3 separate regions of the Homo sapiens genome follow, and regions 1 and 3 are each linked to region 2. The links are contacts of gene promoters, found by promoter capture Hi-C in blood cells and fetal thymus (Javierre and others, 2016). All regions are on one chromosome and are shown on one strand. The core of a region is centred on a gene start or on the middle of the fragment in contact, and the rest is flanking DNA. Distances in the headings are between cores, read along the strand shown. Region 1 overlaps RPE65 (retinoid isomerohydrolase RPE65). Region 2 holds the start of WLS (Wnt ligand secretion mediator). Region 3 holds the start of RPE65 (retinoid isomerohydrolase RPE65).

Region 1 (2,700 bases), core at 149-2,648, 200 kb after region 2:
GAGGTCTTTTAAACTCTTTATGTACCCTACCTACACTGTAAGCTCTAAGAAGGGAGAGTCTTGTCTGTCTTGCTCACTGCTATATCTCAATATTCTATGACAATGACTACAGCGTAGTAGGTACTCATTAAATACTCACTGAATAAATGGATCTGTTCTTATCTGTAACATACAAATATAGCACCTGCTGTACATACTGTAAAAACTGTGATGATCACATGAAAAGTGTGTATTAAAAGACTTTGAAAGCAGTAAGATATATCATATGTATGGTTTCTAAGATCGATCTGGAAGCTGACTTCCTTCGAACAAAATGAGAACAAATCTTTTACAGCTTCGACTGGATATATAAAATCATTTAGTGTGAAATGGCTCCACAATTCTTTATCTCATTTCTCTTAGTTTTCCATATTTTAATCCCATAGAGTGTAATCTATCTCCCTGTCCCAGCTGAGAAGCAGTTAACTAACACTGCTGATTTGTAATTTGAGTTGCTGTATCTGAGTTGCTGGTGTGGCTCTGGGTCTTTTTTCAAGCCCTAGCTTACCGAAAGAACAAATGAAAACTATTCACAGACCTGCCTTCTCATTCTCTTGTATCTGCTATAATACTTAGCTTCCCTTCTTAGAATTGCTATTTTTTTAGAAATATGTCTTCGTCAGGGAAGGCAAAAACCTGGAATTCATGTTGCCATTTTTTCTTCCTTCTCTCCCTCATCTAGAGCAGACATTGATGCTCCATCGTGACACCAAATGGTGCTTTGACATTTTTTTCTACTGGTAATCAACAAGACCTGATCAAAAGATGAAAATTCTTTTCAAATAGTTTTAATTCTTCAGTACTGCTCTATTTATAGTATTAAGGATCGTTTTTGAGTATTACGGAATAATCAACCTTACTCCTTTCCTAACGAACTAACATACAGAACTGCAGTAAGAAGAGTATTCAGACACAACAATTGCTTTCATTACCATCATCTTCTTCCAAGGCATCTGGGTGAGAAACAAAGATGGGTTCTGATGGGTATGAATCAGGCTCTTGCCAAACCCAAGTTTCTTTAGTTTTGACATTCAGCTTACAGAGCTGTTTGTGAGAAAGAAAAATCAATCAAGCAATCAGTCAATATGCTTTACTTGACTAGCATATACTCAAAGCACTGTTCAAATATTAGTAAGAAGGATTAATTACCCTATCTGGAACAAAGTGATTCAAGCCAAGTCCATACGCATATGTGTAAGGTTTCCCACAATACTTCTGGTAATTGATTTGAGGAAACTCAAATGCTACGAAATAGAGCACATGCTTAGGAAAACTCTTAATCTCTTTGAAAGAAACATTTGTTCACTCCCGTGTGAAGTTTTCTCTAGATCATCTCACCTTGACGAGGCCCTGAAAAGAGAACTTCAGGCTCCAGCCAGATAGTCTCGTCACTGCACAGAATTGCAGTGGCAGTTGTATTGGGGAGCGTGACTAAATTCTTGCCTGTGTCAGCCTAGGAGAGAAGATAACAGAAACCTCAGTGAGCAGGAAAGAATTCAAACAGCCAGAAATGCAGAGTTCTTAAGTCTTGGCTCCTAAGTTCTTTTTTAGGTCAACATGCAGGGAGGAACTGCAGGAAGCTATAGATGAGGGACCCTGGGACGCGACTGGGCAAGCTATCTGTGCCTGTGTCAGTCACTGGCTATGTATCACTGGGAAAGTCACATAACCTCTTAGGCCATCAATTTTCTCTTCAGTAAAATGAGACCATCCTTGAAGAAAATTTAGGGCTCCAAAGAAAGGCCTCTGAAAAACAAAAAAACAAAAACCAAACAAAAATCTCAAAACCAATAATAATAATAATTAATGTTTTTCTGCAGAACAACAAAGACTTCGACTGCCTGAGGGATGAAAGAATGTATATTTCGTTCACACGTAGAATATGTTTTGATTTTGCTTGAAAAAAAAAATCCTTACAGTTATGTTGACAAAAAGAAAAAAAAAAAACGCTGGACCATATGTTTCCTAAGATCTCTTGTCACACACACATGATTTTTCTGATTATTTTATGAAATACCATGAGATTTTTCTAACATATCTACTTATTAATAATTTCATCAAATACTTGATTACATATTTTATTCTAGACTCTATTCTTGGCATTCAGGATGTTTTGGAGAGTGAAGTCCCTGTCCTCATGAAGCCTACATTCTAGTTCAAGGAGATATACAATAAATATAATTAATAAATTTTATAATATACCACAAATGTGGGGGAAAAATAGAATAGAGGAAAAAAGATCAGAAACGTGAAGGGTAAGCGGTTAAAATTTGAATAGATGGTTCGGGTAGGTCTCTTTGAACAGGTGGCAGAGGAGACAAAACTCTTAGAAGATGAGAGAATTAGCAATGCAGATATCTGGGGAAGAGTGTTCACGCTAAGAGAACAAATTGTGCAAAGGCCTGAGGGAGGAGGATGCTGAGTGTGTTTGAGGAGCATCAAAGAGTCCAGTGTGGATTCTATCAACTGAGCTAGGGGAGAGAATAAGAAAGGAAGGTGGGGAGGTCACGAGCCAGGCTGTACAAAGCCTCGTAGGTCATTATGAGGACTTGATCTTTCTCTGTGAGTGAGTGATGGGAAGCCATTGGAGGGTTTTCAGCACAGGAGTGAGATGCTATGATTTATTTTTAGGGTAGCCTTGTTAGTAGGGAGGATCCAAGA
Region 2 (2,700 bases), core at 164-2,663:
GGATGTCCCAAATCTTGAGGGGGCGGGGGGCGCGAGTGTGCAGAGAGGCGGGAGGATGGATGCAGATGGGGAGACAGTGAGGGGAAGGGAGTTTTTCCGAGTGGACGGTCCGTGAGGCGGTTTTCTTCACCCGGAAGCCTGTTTGACTCAGAGAGGTCCGGGAGGTGCACGCCAGGGGAGGTCTCCCGGGGCGGGCGCTGTCGCCGAGGAGGCCGGCGAGCTGTCACCTGCGGGGGGCTGTGGTGGGAGCTGAGGGCGCTCTCCTAAGCGCCAAAAGAGGACGGGGACATTCACAGTCACCGGCTCTCGGGGCTCTAAGTAGTGGGGGAAGGGATATTCACGAGTGGGCAGGAGGCCAAAAGCAACACCTTTCGGATACGCTTTTCCCCTCCGACCTCTCCAACTTCCCGCGGCGCTGGTCAAGGACTCCCTCCCACCCCACCCCATCCCACCCAACCTCCCGGCCGACAATTCGGACCTGTCCACGGCAGAGCGTGGGGTGGAGTGCGGCGGGAAAGCAGAGGGCGCGAAGGTCGGGACCCCAAATTGCAAACCCTCAGCCCCTAGCAAAGACGACCAAATGCATTTACAACCGTGCAAGTATCTCAGCCTTGTAACAGAGCTCCGGGTTTGCGCCGGGCACAGTTCCCCGACTCTTCTGTTGTTCCTAATAAAGTCGATTACGTTGCCCTCCCGGAGCTGATTGGAAGGGAACCGAGAGGAAAAGGGGGGGAACGCGGGAAAAAGCGGGGGGGGGGGGGGGCGAGCAATCAACTTTGTAACCCAGCGCTTCCTCGCGCGATCCGTCGCCATGCTTAAGATTCCCACCCCCGCCGCCCCCCTCTTGCCTTTCAAGTGGATACTGAAACTAGGCCAAAACTTTTTCCCCTCCTTTTCTCTTAGCCACTAGACTGGATTGTGCCCCACGGAGCCCCATGGAGCTCTGCTTTCTTAAGCACAATAGCCGGACTAATTAGATCATAGAAGCAAGGCAGTGATACTGTAACAAGTAGCCCAAGAGGCAAAGAGGGAAGGGGCCCGAAAAGACAGAAAGGGGGAAAAGTTTGCAGCTCTCCGCACTTACCAATCAAGCCTCCCACCAGAAAGGCGATGATTTGGAACACGAGCAGAATCCCACCAACAATGCACAGCTTCTTGGTGCTCATGTTTTCTATAATTGCCCCAGCCATTTTTGCGCCCCCCCTTTTTCTTTTCTCCTTGAAATAAATGTTTTAGGGTGAGCTTTTTGCTCCCTCCTCTCACACACTCCCTCCTTCCTCGCCTCCTTTCTGGGCGCTGCAAAACTTCAGAGGTGCTGGAGCGCGGCGAGGATGGGACCGGGACGGAAGGCGCCCGCACGGATTCCCCCGGCGCAGCCGGCTCGGGTTCCCCCAATGCCCGGAGCTGTGATTGTGGCCGCTCCGCCGCCTGTGGACGCTTAAAGGAGCAGGGAAGCGGATCACATGACGCCGCCTCCCTCCCTTTCTTCCTCCCTCCCTCTCGCGCTTCCTCCCTCCCTCCCTCCCTCTCTTCCTCTACCCCTTGCCCACCAGTTCGGGGCTCAGAGCTCTGGCGGGTGCTGGCGCCTGGCTCCCGAGTCTGGCCTGCAACCTGTCTCTCCAAGGTCTGATGCCATTTAGGGGTTGCTGTTGATGTTAAGCGGGTTCCCCCTGCCCAGCTTCTCACAGGTTTCCTTTTCTGGTTTCCGAAGTGCGAGATTTAAATCACCGGTGGACCGCCTTGCAGACCTTTAACTTACGCGTTGACTTTAGGAAATGGTCCCCACCCCACCCCCAACTGCTAGAACTCTCTTTAGGAAAGAGGAGGAGAATTTTTTTTAAAAGGACCCAATAGATGCCTAAGTCAAAACACAGAGATGCGGAATAAAGTCTCAGCTCGACTTCTTTCTACCAGATTCCCAGCCTCGGTTATTGGGCACATACCCAGCTAAATTCCCCACGGCGCCCCTTGAGGAAACTTGCTCTCCAGCCAAATCAGACCACTGTTCGTTACTCCAGCACATGTGCTTCCACAGCCTTAACCCTGGTTATTGCCTTAAAGAGAACATGTTCTACTCCATCAATGTTAAACCTGATCCAAAACCAACTAGTGTTAAAAAATCTTTCTAATTTTCCACACCACCTCCATGCAGTATCTCTGGGAACTGAGCCCCTACAATCCTGTATTTACATTTTTACCTCCTATTGTAAGGATTTGTGTACACGTTTGTCTCCACCACTGAGCTGTAAACTCCTGGGGAATAGGGACCAAGTTTTTTTTGTTCTTTGTACCCCCCATGGTGCCTAACAAAATGCTAGCTCTAGTAGGTGCCCCATAATCTTTTGTGGAATGAATAAGTGAATGTGAAAGCAAGCCCACAGTTTGTATTTCAAAGGTCTAAAGAGATCTTAGTTGGTTTAGAGGGTACCTATATTAAGTTACAATGTTTGTTGTCTCTTTGTGAGAAATCATATATTTATATTTATACTTAACTTCCATAAAAAGAGGGGCGGGGCTCCCGATAGAGATTTCCTGCTCTATCAAGCCTAAATTTCTGGGCCTGGTTTTTCCATGTTTCATAAACTGGCCGCTTGGCCAGTACAACTCACCTTACTCAATAGACCCTTGGTTTGGTAAATACCCCACCCTGCTCCCCAAACGTGCAGTTTCTACCACCACCACCCACACATCTTGTTTCTT
Region 3 (2,700 bases), core at 1-2,500, 220 kb after region 2:
ACCCTGAAATGGTGGAAGAATAAGGAAGAAGCCCATGTTGATGCTCAAAGTCCGCAGAGATAGAGGCAGAGCTGCAGGAGAGAAGGCACTCTAGGGCTGGCTCAAAGCCTGTTCACTCCTGCCGGTCTAGTCTCAGCTGGGTGGGGGTGGGGGTGGGGGGAGAAGCGAAGGTGAGGGCGGGAGGAGCACGTGAGGCTGGGGGTGGGGAAGACTACTCAGGTATGGAAGGGGGTCCCAGATCACTGCTCTGATGTCAAGAGACATGACCTCTCTTTTAATGTCAATGGTTACAGTGAACTTAATCCTGTCCTCTGCAGTTTTTCCTTACTTCGGAAGACAAATCAATCAATCCTACTGCCATCAGTTCACTTCCTGAAATTTGTTCCTAAACAGGGTCCTTCCCACAGTATTCTCCCACCCTATCAACATGCTCAGCTCACAGCATCATTGATTTTCTTGCCTCAAGGAGAGACCCATTTATCTCCTTCCTAGGGGTTGAGAGATGACAGCTTTTTGGGTCAGGTACCTCATCTTTCATTATTCACTCATATTATACCATAATTTTTTCCCCATCATCTCATTTCTCTACCAATCCCCAAGACCTACAGTACTTTTTCATCATAGTCAGACCAGGAGATTCAGGTTCTATATTTTTGTTTACTTTCTACATCCTCTGTTCAGTTTCATGTTGTAACTTCAAAGAGTGGAATCTCTGACCAGACTCAATTATAATAATTACCTTTTACTAAACAATTACTATGTCCTACATACCATAAAAAGAACTTTGCATGGTATTATCTCTTTTAAATCTCACAGTAACATAATGGAGTAAAAGCTATTGTGACATCTTTCTATATACAGGAAAAGCTAGACTTAAAAAGTTAGGTAATTTGTCCAAAGTCACACACTAGGAAATGACTGGGCAAGGAGTGGAGCCCAAGTCTGTCTGAAATCCCCATACTCAAGACTGCTTCCAAACCCCGGGCTAAGTCACACAAACCCCCCATAATTTGGACCTGAATTCTAGCTAGTTGCTTTAATACATAAGCAGGAAAAAATTTCCCCACCAAAATTCAAGGGTCTTTCCTAAACAGGTCATTAATCAATGCCTTCTCTTCAGGAGCCCTTGAAATAGCACATTTATCATGAATCCATGAAGGTGTTTTAAAAAAGTCTCCCAGAGATACTTACTGGATAGACATTTTCTTCCAGTTCAGGATCCAGAGTTCTGGCACCAACTGCAGAATGAAGAAGGAAGTTCTCAGCCAGGGGCCTTTTTATGCCTTCTAAATCCCTTAAAAGGAGTTATGGCTTTGGGAGCCCTTCCCCACCCCTTCAGCTGAGGGAGGGGGAACAGAAGTTGCTTTCAGCTCTCAGATCCCCCTGATGCTTGGCTTTATTTGGGCTTGCTGTTCCCATAACAGTTGTTTGGCTGTTTTCCAGAGACCTCAATCCTTCCCAAGGAGAATGAGAACAGATTAGAAAGAAAGGAGCTAGGTGGGAGTGGCCAGCGTCAGGCCTGAGCTGATCCCAGTCACCCCACTGGACCTTGGCACCATTCTCTGGGGCCCACCTCCCCCTAATACCTCTGTGCCTTCATTCTCACCCTCATTCATTAACTCACTTATTTTTAAAAATATCTATTACATACCACCTATGAACCAGACAGAGATGGGTATTGTCCCTGTCCCTGTCTTCACAGATCTTATAACTCTGTAAGAGTTATAGTAAACAAAGTATTCAACCATGTTTGATTAGTGCTAAGATTGGAGAAGTATAAAATGTTATGGAAGCACATTGTGCACCTCTAACCCTCTCTAGCAACCTTATTGATACCATTCAGTGCCAATATTCTTCCAACCAGGTTGAGGACTTTTGATTTGCTGAGAATGAAATTCTGCATATCTTTGCTTGTCACTAATGCCTGTCTGCTCTCTGCCTCACCTTCTTGTCCATTGGTATATGTTTGGCACTCTGAGAGTATACAGCATCAATTCATTCATATCTCCAATACTCTTTCATTAAGTCTCAGTTGCTTGCCAGCACAGACAAGGTACTGCCCAAAGAAGTCCTTGGAAAACAGGCAAGATATATACTATACCAGCTAACAACCTTAACATTTTTTTTGAGAAACTCATTAACAATTTTAAATTTAGTGTGCAGTTATGGCTACTTACCCTAGGGGTCTTCTTCAACAAAACTGTATAACAATTAATCCAAGTGCTTCCCAAGATATACAACAGTAGCTTCATTTCCTTACAGTGAGGGCATAGGCATGTGATGGGCTCCACCCGTTAGGGACAGTGGTAGAAGTCCTAATGGTAGCACCTGGGGCTTAGCATCCATAATATCTCTGCCCATCCAAGGCAGTTGTAGTGTCTCCATTCAACAGTGGAGCCCGGAATATTGTTACTGGCTGGGTAGCCTCCAAGCTCCATCCTTTAGCCATCCCAGAGATTGTTAGCTCTCTAATATTTACAATATTTGCGTTCTGCTTTATTAGAGTTAGTTCCATTATTTGCAGCTAAGAGCCCTATGCCTATAAAATGATGGTAGTATAAGATACTACCATCATATTTTGGGGGGTATAATCACTTTTGTTGGATCTTGGAGAGTAATAGAAGAGGAGATTAATATCTATCTTTCCACATTAAAAGACCTGTTTCCAAAATATTTCAAATAAGAAACTTCTCCTCAAAG

What was found. Contacts are between HindIII fragments. The CHiCAGO score rates a contact against its expected background, and 5 or more counts as called.
Region 1: a contact is called between a fragment that was not itself captured here and the fragment with the promoter of WLS in region 2, in 1 of 17 cell types (monocytes). The highest score is 6.1, in monocytes.
Region 3: the fragment with the promoter of RPE65 here is called in contact with the fragment with the promoter of WLS in region 2 in 3 of 17 cell types (monocytes, neutrophils and naive B cells); the score reaches 14.3 in monocytes.

The regions. Positions count from the first base shown.
Region 1 is chr1:68,430,094-68,432,793 of GRCh38, forward strand. RPE65 (retinoid isomerohydrolase RPE65) reads right to left here. Exons shown (of 14, transcript NM_000329.3): 11 at 1,378-1,492; 12 at 1,189-1,283; 13 at 972-1,083. The region is part of intron 1 of LOC124904198 (a long non-coding RNA gene); the gene reads left to right. Among named protein-coding and RNA genes, the nearest start is that of RPE65, 19 kb to the right of the region's middle. The HindIII fragment of the contact is 4,785 bases long and covers 1-2,700 here.
Region 2 is chr1:68,231,110-68,233,809 of GRCh38, forward strand. It overlaps WLS (Wnt ligand secretion mediator), which reads right to left and starts at 1,414. Exons shown (of 12, transcript NM_024911.7): 1 at 1,085-1,414. The coding sequence starts at 1,190. The HindIII fragment of the contact is 11,043 bases long and covers 1-2,700 here.
Region 3 is chr1:68,448,704-68,451,403 of GRCh38, forward strand. It overlaps RPE65 (retinoid isomerohydrolase RPE65), which reads right to left and starts at 1,251. Exons shown (of 14, transcript NM_000329.3): 1 at 1,192-1,251; 2 at 1-3. The coding sequence starts at 1,202. LOC124904198 (a long non-coding RNA gene) reads left to right here. Exons shown (of 2, transcript XR_007066164.1): 2 at 1-2,700. The HindIII fragment of the contact is 10,150 bases long and covers 1-2,700 here.